2 separate regions of the Homo sapiens genome follow, and region 2 is linked to region 1. The links are contacts of gene promoters, found by promoter capture Hi-C in blood cells and fetal thymus (Javierre and others, 2016). All regions are on one chromosome and are shown on one strand. The core of a region is centred on a gene start or on the middle of the fragment in contact, and the rest is flanking DNA. Distances in the headings are between cores, read along the strand shown.

What was found. Contacts are between HindIII fragments. The CHiCAGO score rates a contact against its expected background, and 5 or more counts as called.
Region 2: a contact is called between a fragment that was not itself captured here and the fragment with the promoter of GCNA in region 1, in 16 of 17 cell types (activated CD4 T cells, naive CD8 T cells, naive CD4 T cells and 13 more). The highest score is 16.0, in activated CD4 T cells.

Annotation. Positions count from the first base shown.
Region 1 is chrX:71,575,723-71,580,589 of GRCh38, reverse strand. GCNA (germ cell nuclear acidic peptidase) reads right to left here and starts at 2,153. Exons shown (of 13, transcript NM_052957.5): 1 at 2,068-2,153. It overlaps OGT (O-linked N-acetylglucosamine (GlcNAc) transferase), which reads right to left. Exons shown (of 22, transcript NM_181672.3): 22 at 4,698-4,867. RefSeq lists an enhancer at 1,305-1,946. The HindIII fragment of the contact is 6,206 bases long and covers 1-4,867 here.
Region 2 is chrX:71,424,058-71,429,309 of GRCh38, reverse strand. It overlaps TAF1 (TATA-box binding protein associated factor 1), which reads right to left. Exons shown (of 38, transcript NM_004606.5): 31 at 5,244-5,252; 32 at 5,072-5,156. Among named protein-coding and RNA genes, the nearest start is that of TAF1, 60 kb to the right of the region's middle. The HindIII fragment of the contact is 631 bases long and covers 3,188-3,818 here.

The DNA.
Region 1 (4,867 bases), core at 904-3,403:
GGCAGGAAAATGGCGTGAACCCGGGAGGCAGAGCTTGCAGTGAGCCGAGATTGTGCCACTGCACTCCAGCCTGGGCCACAGAGCTAGACTCCATCTCAAAAAAGAAAAAGAAAAAGAAAATAAAATAAAAAGAAAAAAAAAAGAAAGCCAGAACTCAAAAGCAGAGACATCTCTACATTTACATTCTGCATTTATCTTTGGGTATCTTCCCCACCTTAAAGCCGAAACTTTGCTCTGCAAAATGAAAAGGATTTAAATTTGTTTTGTTGCAAACTTTTCCCACTCAGGCCTCTACCACCCCAATCTCTTCCCACCCTGCACCCGCCCCCACTTCCCACTCCCTCCACTCCCACCTCAACTTGCCAGTCTTCCACGTATCAGGGCTCGACCGCCCCCACATCCCACTGGCCCTCCACCTCCCTACAACCTTCAGTCCCCCTACTCCTGCCCCAAGGAAGTCTCCCACCTACCGGGTGTCAACCTCTCCCCCTTCCCCTACCTCTTTACTCCCCACTCTGTCAATCTTACCCAGAATAGGCTACCACCGCCCCCTCATCACCTTCTTCCTTCTGTCCAACCTCCACTGCCCCCTTACCTCCCGCCACTCTGGCTTCTCACTGGTCTTATATGAATCCGGCCACCCCCTCCACGCTTCCTATTCCTGCCTCCAGCCTCTAGCCAATCTTCGACCAAACAGGCCTTGACCCCTCCCCAACTCCTTCCTCCTATCAGGTCTGGACCCTACCCCCACCATTCTCACCTCAGTCTTCCACCAATCAGGCCTCAACCCCACCACCCTTCCCCCACACTCGCACCTCCAACCACCTCCAGCCACCTTCAACTGCTCCCAACCGGTTTTCCAAGCAGGCTTCCACTCCCCCACACTTCTATCCAACTTCTGCCCTACCCCACTCCTGTCTCCCACCACCACTCAGTCCTCAGCCAAAGAGACCTCAACCCCCACACACACACCCCTACCCACAACCACTAGCTCCCACCTCCCCCCAATGCTGCAACGGGCACCCCCACTTCTCCCCACAGCCACTGGCACCCCCACCTCCAATGCCACCACCAGCATCCTCACTTCTCCCCACGCCCACCAGCACCACCACGTGCTCCTAGGCCACTTCCACCACCACCAAGTGTTCCTACGCCGCCACCAGAACCCCCCACTTCCCTCAACGCCCCCATTGGCACCCCCACCTTCAATGCGGCCACCGGCGCCTCCACTTCTCCCCACACCGCCAGCGCTACTATGTGCTCCTATGCCACCAACGCCACCAAGTACTCCTAGGCCGCAACTGGCACCCCCACCTCCCCCCACGCTGCCACTGGCATCCCTACTTCTCCCCACCCGCCACTAGGGACACCACCTGTTCCTACACCACCACTGGGGCCCCCACCTCCCCCCAGTGCCGCAACCAGCGCCCTCACTTCTCCCCGCGCCGCCACCGGCGCCACGTATTCCTACATAGCCACTGGCGCCACCACACGCTCCTACGCCACCACCAGCGCTCCCACTTCCCCCAAGGCCGCCAATGGTGCCCCTACTTCTCCCCACACCGTCACTGGTGCTACCACATGCTCCTACACCACCACCAGCACCCCCACTTCCCCGACACTGCCACAGGCACCCCCACTTCCCCCAACGCCGCCACTGGTGCCCCTACTTCTCTCCACCCGCCACTGGCACCAACACCTCCTTCTACGCCACCACCAGGCCCCCCACTATCTGCAATGACGCCACCAGCGCCCCTTCTCCCCACGCCGCCACTGGCACTACCAGCTGCTCCTACGCCGCCACCGGCGCCCCCACCCCTCCCAATGCCGCCACTGGCGCCACCATATGTTTCCTACACCACCATGGGCGCCCCCACCTCCCCCAATGCTACCACTGGCGCCTCCACTTCTCCCCTCGCTGCCACTTCCTCTACTCCCACCTCAGGCCTACACGGGCAACCAGAGTCCAAGGTATACAGTGGTCCTGATTTTAATTAAGTCACTCAATTAGGATTAACCTCTGGACCACTTCAGCACCCATCTCAGTCCGACCAGCCGGTCACCTACCTGGTGTTGCAGCCTCTGGCGTGGCCGGCAGCAGCTCACCTCCAACTGCCCGTGGAGTGTGTGCAAAGATCCGGAGCAACTGCGATGAACAACGCCAGGCGCAGGCCCCTTTATAGTGCCCGGACCTAGGGGGCGGTAGCAGTAATTCACGTGTGCTCGCCCGCGCTCCCCTGTACCCACCTATCACAGTGGTCACAAGACAAATTTGAACTTCGCGCCTGTGAACTTGGCGCCTAGCTGTAACGCTTCCGGGATCAGGTCTGTCGCTTTCCACTCCCACGGATGTTGCTTATTTGTCCCAAAACCGCCATTTCAATACTAGAGCGTGGGCACCCGAGGCCAATTCTGCGATTAAAAGTCCCTAACAACTTTCTGATAAAGAGAAACCATGTGAAATCGTTCATAACAAACTTTTATCCTGCGAGAACTTGGATAAGCGAGCCTTGTTCCTTACTTGAATTGTCCAGACCTCTAAGTCCGTTATTGCAACCACTGGGAAAGGGCGCGGGGGGAGGGGCGGGGGCACGAGAACTGGAGCGAAGGCGCGGGAGCAGGGGCGTGGACGGGAACACCGAGGGGAGGGCGGGGCGCGGGGGGACGCGGGAGCGCAGGGGGGCGGGGGTTGCAGGGAAGGCCATCTAGACCCCTAGATAAGAGCAAGGCAGCAACTCAACAGCGCCTGGCAACGGCGAACTATGATGTTTACTTCCAGAACCCTCCAAACCCTGGAGATAAAAAAAGGTTACTTGAGGCTTTTTGGCACTCACTCCATACACACCAAGAAAAACAAACGGGGAAAACAGCGCTTTCTAGATTGTGCCAGTTTCTCCAGCGAGCATCTATATATTTCGTAATGTATGCCTTTGGGTAACAGAACACACATAAAATGTCCCTGCGTTTGATACTATTTTGTGCTAAGCATTATTCCAAGTGTCTTACGACTTAATTCATACAACACTTTAAAAAGTAGGCAACTGTTAGCACTCTCATTTTAGAGATCACACAGCTAGAAAGTGGCAGAGCTGGCCGGGCACAGTGGCTCACGCCTGTAACCCCAGCACTTTGGGAGGCTGAGGCGGGTGGATCACGAAGTCAGGAGCTTGAGACCAGCCTGGTCAACATGGTGAAACCCCGTCTCTACTAAAGATAAAAAAAAAAAAATAGCCGCGTGTGGTGGCCCGCGCCTGTAATCCCAGCTACTCGGGAGGCTGAGGCAGGAGAATCGCTGGAACCTGGGAGGCGGAGGTTGCAGTGAGCCGAGATCGTGCCATTGCACTCCAGCATGGGGACAGGGCGAGACTCCATCTCAAAAAAAAAAAAAAAAGTGGCAGAGCTGAGATTCAAACTCCAACTCTAGTTCCAAAACCTGCTCTTAAGCACCAGATTGCCTACCTAAATACAGATACTTTCTCAGTTGATAAAAAAATTGGATAAAGGGGGCTGATTACTCTCTCTCTCTACAATGAAGTTGCAAATTAACCTCTACAAGCCTCTTTATAAGAATGGGGATTACATAACTGTGCCTCAGAGGCTTGGGCAAAGAACCAGGATGTTAGCTATAATTGAGAGGCATATGCTTCAAGTAAAAGAATGGGATAGGTTTGGAATCAAATCTTAAAATGGGCAGTTCAGAAATTACACACATTTACTCAAGGTGTGCAAGCAACTCCTTTAGATTGAAGGCAGGAGGAGCTGAAGTAGACTGGAAATAATGTAGATTTTTCAAGAGAAGCGAATGGGAGTAAAAACTTTTGAGTAGGCTTTCTTCCCATAATAATCTTTTAGGAAACAAACACCAATCCACATGAGGGCTTTAAGAAGTTGGGAATTAAATCATGCAAAATTTTACTGAAAAAAATCTTCCCTCTCATATCTGAGAAAACTGGCAAACAGCATTTGCCATGATATCAATTCATGATATCAATCATGAATTGATATCTTCCTCCCTGATGCTTGTGGCAGAGTTCGACCACTATACAGAGCAGGAAGGAAAATAATTTTGCCCCCAAGAGCCAAGAAAAGAATGGTCCACATGAAAACCGAGACTACAAGGGTAAATGAAAGCAGAGAGGTCACAAGCAAAAGAGGAGCAAGCATGAATGGGTGTGTTGGGGATCACAGGCTTTGTCTTTTTTTTTTTTTGAGATGACATCTCACTCTGTTGTCCAGGCTGGAATGCAATGGCACGATCTCAGCTCACTGCAACCTCTGCCTCCCGGGTTCAAGCGATTCTCCTGTCTCAGCCTCGCATGTAGTTGGGATTACAAGCGTGTGCCACCACTCCCGGCTAGTTTTTTTGTATTTTTAGTAGAGACAGGGTTTCACCATGTTAGCCAGGCTGGTCTTGAACTCCTGACCTCAAGTGATCCACCTGCCTCCGCCTCCCAAAGTGCTGGGGTTACAGGCGTGAGCCACCACACAAGGCCACTTTGCCTTCTTAATGGATCATAAACTAACCCCACCCTCTACCAGACCTGGCTGAGAAAACAATTCCTAATATCATAGCTACAGTAGGGAAATTTGGTCCTTTCATGCTGTTTGGAGGTGTTTAAATATAGGTTTCATCATTGGATGACACTATTCTTCAGTCCAACACTCAATATAACAGGATACAAAATACATCAGCCGTATTAAAGGGAAATCATTCATTTATTAAGGATCGCAAGACAACATCTTAATTTCTGTAGTACGATTTAAATGTTTTACTTCTTTGATAAAGCAGAGTACAATAGAAAAAAAACAATTAGTTTCCAGTAATATCTATATCTCTAATCAGAATTAAGTCTTCCAAGACATATTA
Region 2 (5,252 bases), core at 2,254-4,753, 150 kb after region 1:
AGGAGAGTTCCCTGCTTCCTTCTGCTTTTTTTTTTGAGACAGAGTCTTGCTCTGTCGCCCAGGCTGGAGTGCAGTGATGCGATCTCAGCTCACTGCAAGCTCCGCCTCCCAGGTTCACACCATTCTCCTGCCTCAGCCTCCCGAGTAGCTGGGACTACAGGCGCCCGCCACCACGCCCGGCTAATTTTTTGTATTTTTAGTAGAGACGGGGTTTCACTGTGTCAGCCAGAATGGTTTCGATCTCCTGACCTTGTGATCCGCCCACCTCAGCCTCCCAAAGTGCTGGGATTACAGGCGTGAGCCACCGCGCCCGGCCTCCCTGCTTCCTATATGAGGAAAAACCACGGAAAACATATAAAAGATGAAAACAAAGACAATCCTAACCCCATGTCACAGAAATAACCACTATTATCACTCTGGTGTGTTTCCTTCCAGCCTTTTTTGTACGTATATACATCTTTTTTAAAAAAGCATGACTGAGATAAAATAAACATCTTTGTGCTCTGCTTTTCTCACTTAACATTGTGAGCATTTTTTGGTCATTAAGTTTTCCAAAAAAGAGCTTATTAGGTAAATCTGTACCTAATAATTAATTATACAGATGGCACTATAACATCATCCCCTTTATGTCAACTATTCAGGTTAAATAAATCCTTGCTAATATAAGTAACAATATCATGAATACCTTTAACTACATCTCTGATTAGGATTATAATCTTACCACATGGTAAGTACTTACATGCACTATTTTATTTAATCCTCAAAACAACCCTCTTGAAGGGGGGTACTATTATTCTTATTTTACAGATAGGAGAAGCAGAGACTAAGTTATTTGCTCAAAGTCACATTGCTATTAAGTGGTGGGGCCAATGTTCAAATCCAAGTCTACTTGACAATAAAGTCTGTTCACTCAACAATTTATTTTAGTCTCTCAATGTTGCCAAATAGCTTTCCAGAAATCTCACACAATTTTATACTGCCAACAGCAATACGTGAGAGCACCTGTCTCACTACCATTATGTCTACTAAAAAATTGAGTTGGCCAAGCGCAGTGGCTCACAAGGTCAGAAGTTCGAGACCAGCCTGGCCAAGATGGTGAAACCCCATCTCTACTAAAAATACAAAAATTAGCCAGGCACGGTGGCGGGAGCCTGTAATCTCAGCTACTTGGGAGGCTGAGGCAGGAGAATTGCTTGAACCCGGGAGGCGGAGGGTGCAGTGAGCCAAGATCGCGCCACTGCACTCTAGCCTGGGCGACAGAGCAAGACTCCATCTCAGAAAAAAAAAAAAAAAAAAAATTGAGCTAATCTAATAGGTTTAAAAAAAAAAGTATCTCTTTCTTTCAATTGCTTTTTTTTTTTTCTTCCTTCTTAGACTAAGTCTCACTCTATCACCCAGGCTGGAGTGCAGTGGCACTATCTCGGCTCACCGCAACCTCTACCTCCCAGGTTCAAGCAATTCTCATGCCTCAGCCTCCTGAGTAGCTGGGATTACAGGCACCCGCCTCCACGCCCAGCTAATTTTTGTATTTTTAGGAAAGATGGGATTTCACCATCTTGGCCAGGCTGATCTCAAACTGCCGACCTAAGGTGATCTATCTGCCTCAGCCTCCCAAAGTGCTGGGATTACAGGCATGAGCCACCATGCCTGGCCCAATTGCATTTCTTGGATTACTAGTGCAACAGAATATTTATTCATGTTTGTTAGCTATTTAATTTTTCTCTTTTGTGATTTGTCCATCTGCCCTCTGCTTACTTTTTTATTAGTATCTTCTGGGTTTTTCTTACTGTTTTACATAAGCTCCTTGTTAAGTCTGCCCTATGTCCTAAGTCAGCCATCACCAGGTCAAGTACCTTTCTGTAACACTCTTGCTTATCACTTGCTATACATAGTCTTTTTTAGACATCTGTGAGCTTACCAACACTTCTACTGCCAGAATTCTGGGTGATTAGGTGTTTTCATAAAACAATAATGGATAATTGACCCAACAAGGGACATTTCCACTCTCCACTTTCCAATGTGTAATAAGCACAGCAAACTGAGAAAGTACATTCTTTCAACCCAAACCAGAATGAACAAAAATGAAAATCTCATCTCCTTAATGATATATGCATGTTCTAGTTACGTATAGTTCCCTGAACTTGCCCTGCTCTTTCATTCTTCCATGATATTGAACATTGTGTTCTCTGCCCAGAATGCTTATTTCTTCATCAGTCTTTCTGACTGTCCAATCCTTCACCTTTTCTCTCCAGTTCTCTGCCCCTTCTGACAAACTTAACAGCCGTACTACTTACTGCTAAAAATTACAGGAGAAAAGTCTTATAATCATGTGGATTCTTAATTGAGAACCTCAGTACGCCAGATAATTCTCTCAAACGTCCTTAGCTCCCTCTTCTATTTGTTTAAGGAATTATAAGAAATTGTTTCCCTGCTTCATTCCTTCAATGTTTTCCCATTTAGGATCAAGTACAAACTCAAGTATAGCACACAAAATCCTCTATGATTTGACTCTTGCCTGCCTCTCAAAACAGTTATTTACCAGTATGTACACTTGAACTGCAACCCCAACACTGTCTCTTTGTTTTTTTTTTTTTGAGATGGAGTTTCACTCTTGTTGCCCAGGCTGGAGTGCAATGGCGGCATCTCGGCTCCCTGCAACCTCCACCTCCAGGGTACAAGCGATTCTCCTGCCTCAGCCTCCCGACTAGCTGGGATCACAGGCATGCACCACCATGCCCAGCTAATTTTGTACTTTTAGTAGAGACGGGGTTTCTCCATGTTGGTCAGCCTGGTCTCAAACTCCCGATTTCAGGTGATCCGCCGGCCTCGGCCTCCCAAAGCGCTGGGATTACAGGCGTGAGCCACCACACCCAGCCTGTTTCCTAAACCTATCATGCAATTTCAGGCCTCTGTGCCTTTACATATCGCTGTTCTCTCTACCCTAGAACATTTTCTCCTCCACATTCTTTGCCAAGTAAACACCATTGATCTTTCAGAACTCAGCTTAAGAAAACTCTCTTCTGGATGGGTGTGGTGGCTCATGCCTGTAATCCTAACACTTTGGGAGGCCAAGATGGGAGGATGGCTTGAGCCCTGGAGTTCCAGACCAGACTGGGCAACACAGCAAGACCCCCATCTCTATTTACAAAAAAGAAAAAGAAGAAAGAAAACCCTCTTCCAGAAAGCTTCCTCTAACCCCACTTTTTTTTTTTTTCTGAGATGGGGTCTCACTATGTTGCCCAGGCTGGTCTTGCACTCCTGAGCTCAAATGATCCGCCCGCCTTGGCCTCCCAAGGTACTAGGATCACAGGTGTGAGCTACCGCACCCAGCCCCACTCTAATTTAGATATACTGTCCTGTGACACTCTGTGCATGCTTATAGTAATAAAATTTAAGTACTATAATTTTTCTTTTCTGTTTCTCCAACTAAACTAACTTGGAGCAGAGACCATATCTAATTTGATATTAGTAACATCTATCAGTGCCAGCGCATGTAAGTACTCAATGTTTAAAAATTGAGTCATTAAAAACTGAACTATATTAGCTCGTTTATGAAGCCTTCCCTAACTCTCAGGTTATTCCTTGCTCTCGTCTGATGCAATCTGCACATACTTCTATTATAGCTCTTGTCAAGCTGCACTTTACTTATTTATTTTATTTATTTATAGAGACAGGGTCTTGCTGTTGCCCAGGATGTAGTGCAGGGGCGTGATCATAGCTCACTGCAGTCTTGAAATCCTGAGTTCAAGTGATCCTCTTGCCTTAGCCTCCCAAATATCTTAAGACTTCAGGCACTCACCACCACACCTAGCTAAGCTTTTGTTTATAAGTTTTTTATACAGACAAGGAAGGTCTTGCTATGTGTGCCCAGGCTGGTCTCAAACTCCTGGCCTCAAGCAATCCTCCCACCTCAGCCTACCAAAGTGTTGAGATTACAGGTATGAGCCACCATGCCTGGTTCCAAGCTGCATTTTAATTGTCTCTTTCTGCCAACTGGATTGTGAATTACTTGAGGACAGTGACTGTCTTTCTTATCAGTAGATTAAGCAGCTAGCACAGGGCCTGGCATATGTTATTCAATCAACTCATGTACTGAGCAAAACTCCATGCACCAAGGAAGCTCACCATGGTCTATAGCTACCCATTTCCCTAAGCTCCATGTAAGGGCCTGGGACATAGGTGAGTTTTCACATTCCAGGAAAAAGCAGTGATAGCTCAGAGCCCAAATGGATAAAAATCCATTTGATTTTTATGCTCACCTCATTTTTCTGTGCTTTCCAAGATTCCAAAAGTAAGCGTATACTACTTTTTCATCATTAACGGCTAATAGCAATCTTTATAGAACATACACACTAAAATATATGCTTGCTTTAAAAAAAAAGACTGGCTGGGAGCAGTGGCTCACGCCTGTAATCCCAGCACTTTGGGAGGCTGAGGCAGGTGGATCACCTGAGGTCAGGAATTCGAGACCAGCCTGGCCAACATAGTGAAACCCCGTTTCTACTAAAAATACAAAAATTAGCTGGGCATGGTGGCAGGCACCTGCAATCCCAGCTACTCAGGAGGCTGAGGCAAGAAAATTGCTTGAACCTGGGAGAGGTGGAGGTTGCAGTGAGCCGAGATCGTGCCATTGCACTCCTGCCTGGGCAACAAGAGTGAAACTCCATCTCAAAATAAATAAATAAATAGAAAGACTAGGTCACTCAATTGATTCTGCTATCACTGCTCAAGGTTGCTTTACGCACATAAATTTTAATAATACTGGTTAGGCGTGTTGGCTCACACCTGTAATCCCAGCATTTTGGGAAGCCGAGGTGGGAGGATTGCTTGAGCTCAGCCTGGGCAAAATAGTAAAACCCTGTCTCTACCAAAAAAAAAAAAAAAAAAAAAAAAAAGAGCCTGGCACGGTGGCGTGTGCCTGGTTCAGTGAACTATGATCACACCACAGCATCCAGCCTGGGTAAGAGAGCAAGATCCTGTCTCAAAAAAAAATTTTTTAATAATGCTAAGTAATGTTAGATGGATAGAAGATGGACGGATTCATGGAAAGAAAATAATGAGAAATACCCACCATTATACTTAACACTGTTGGCCAGAATAAGGTTTACATCATCCAGAAAGCTCTCCCGACTCTGATACTTGTGCTTGGAGATGTTCTGTGATGAAAAGAATCAGGCACTCAGATACACACACACACAGTCACTTGATTACAAAAAGGCATTTAGATCAAATCACTCACTCACCTTACGTAT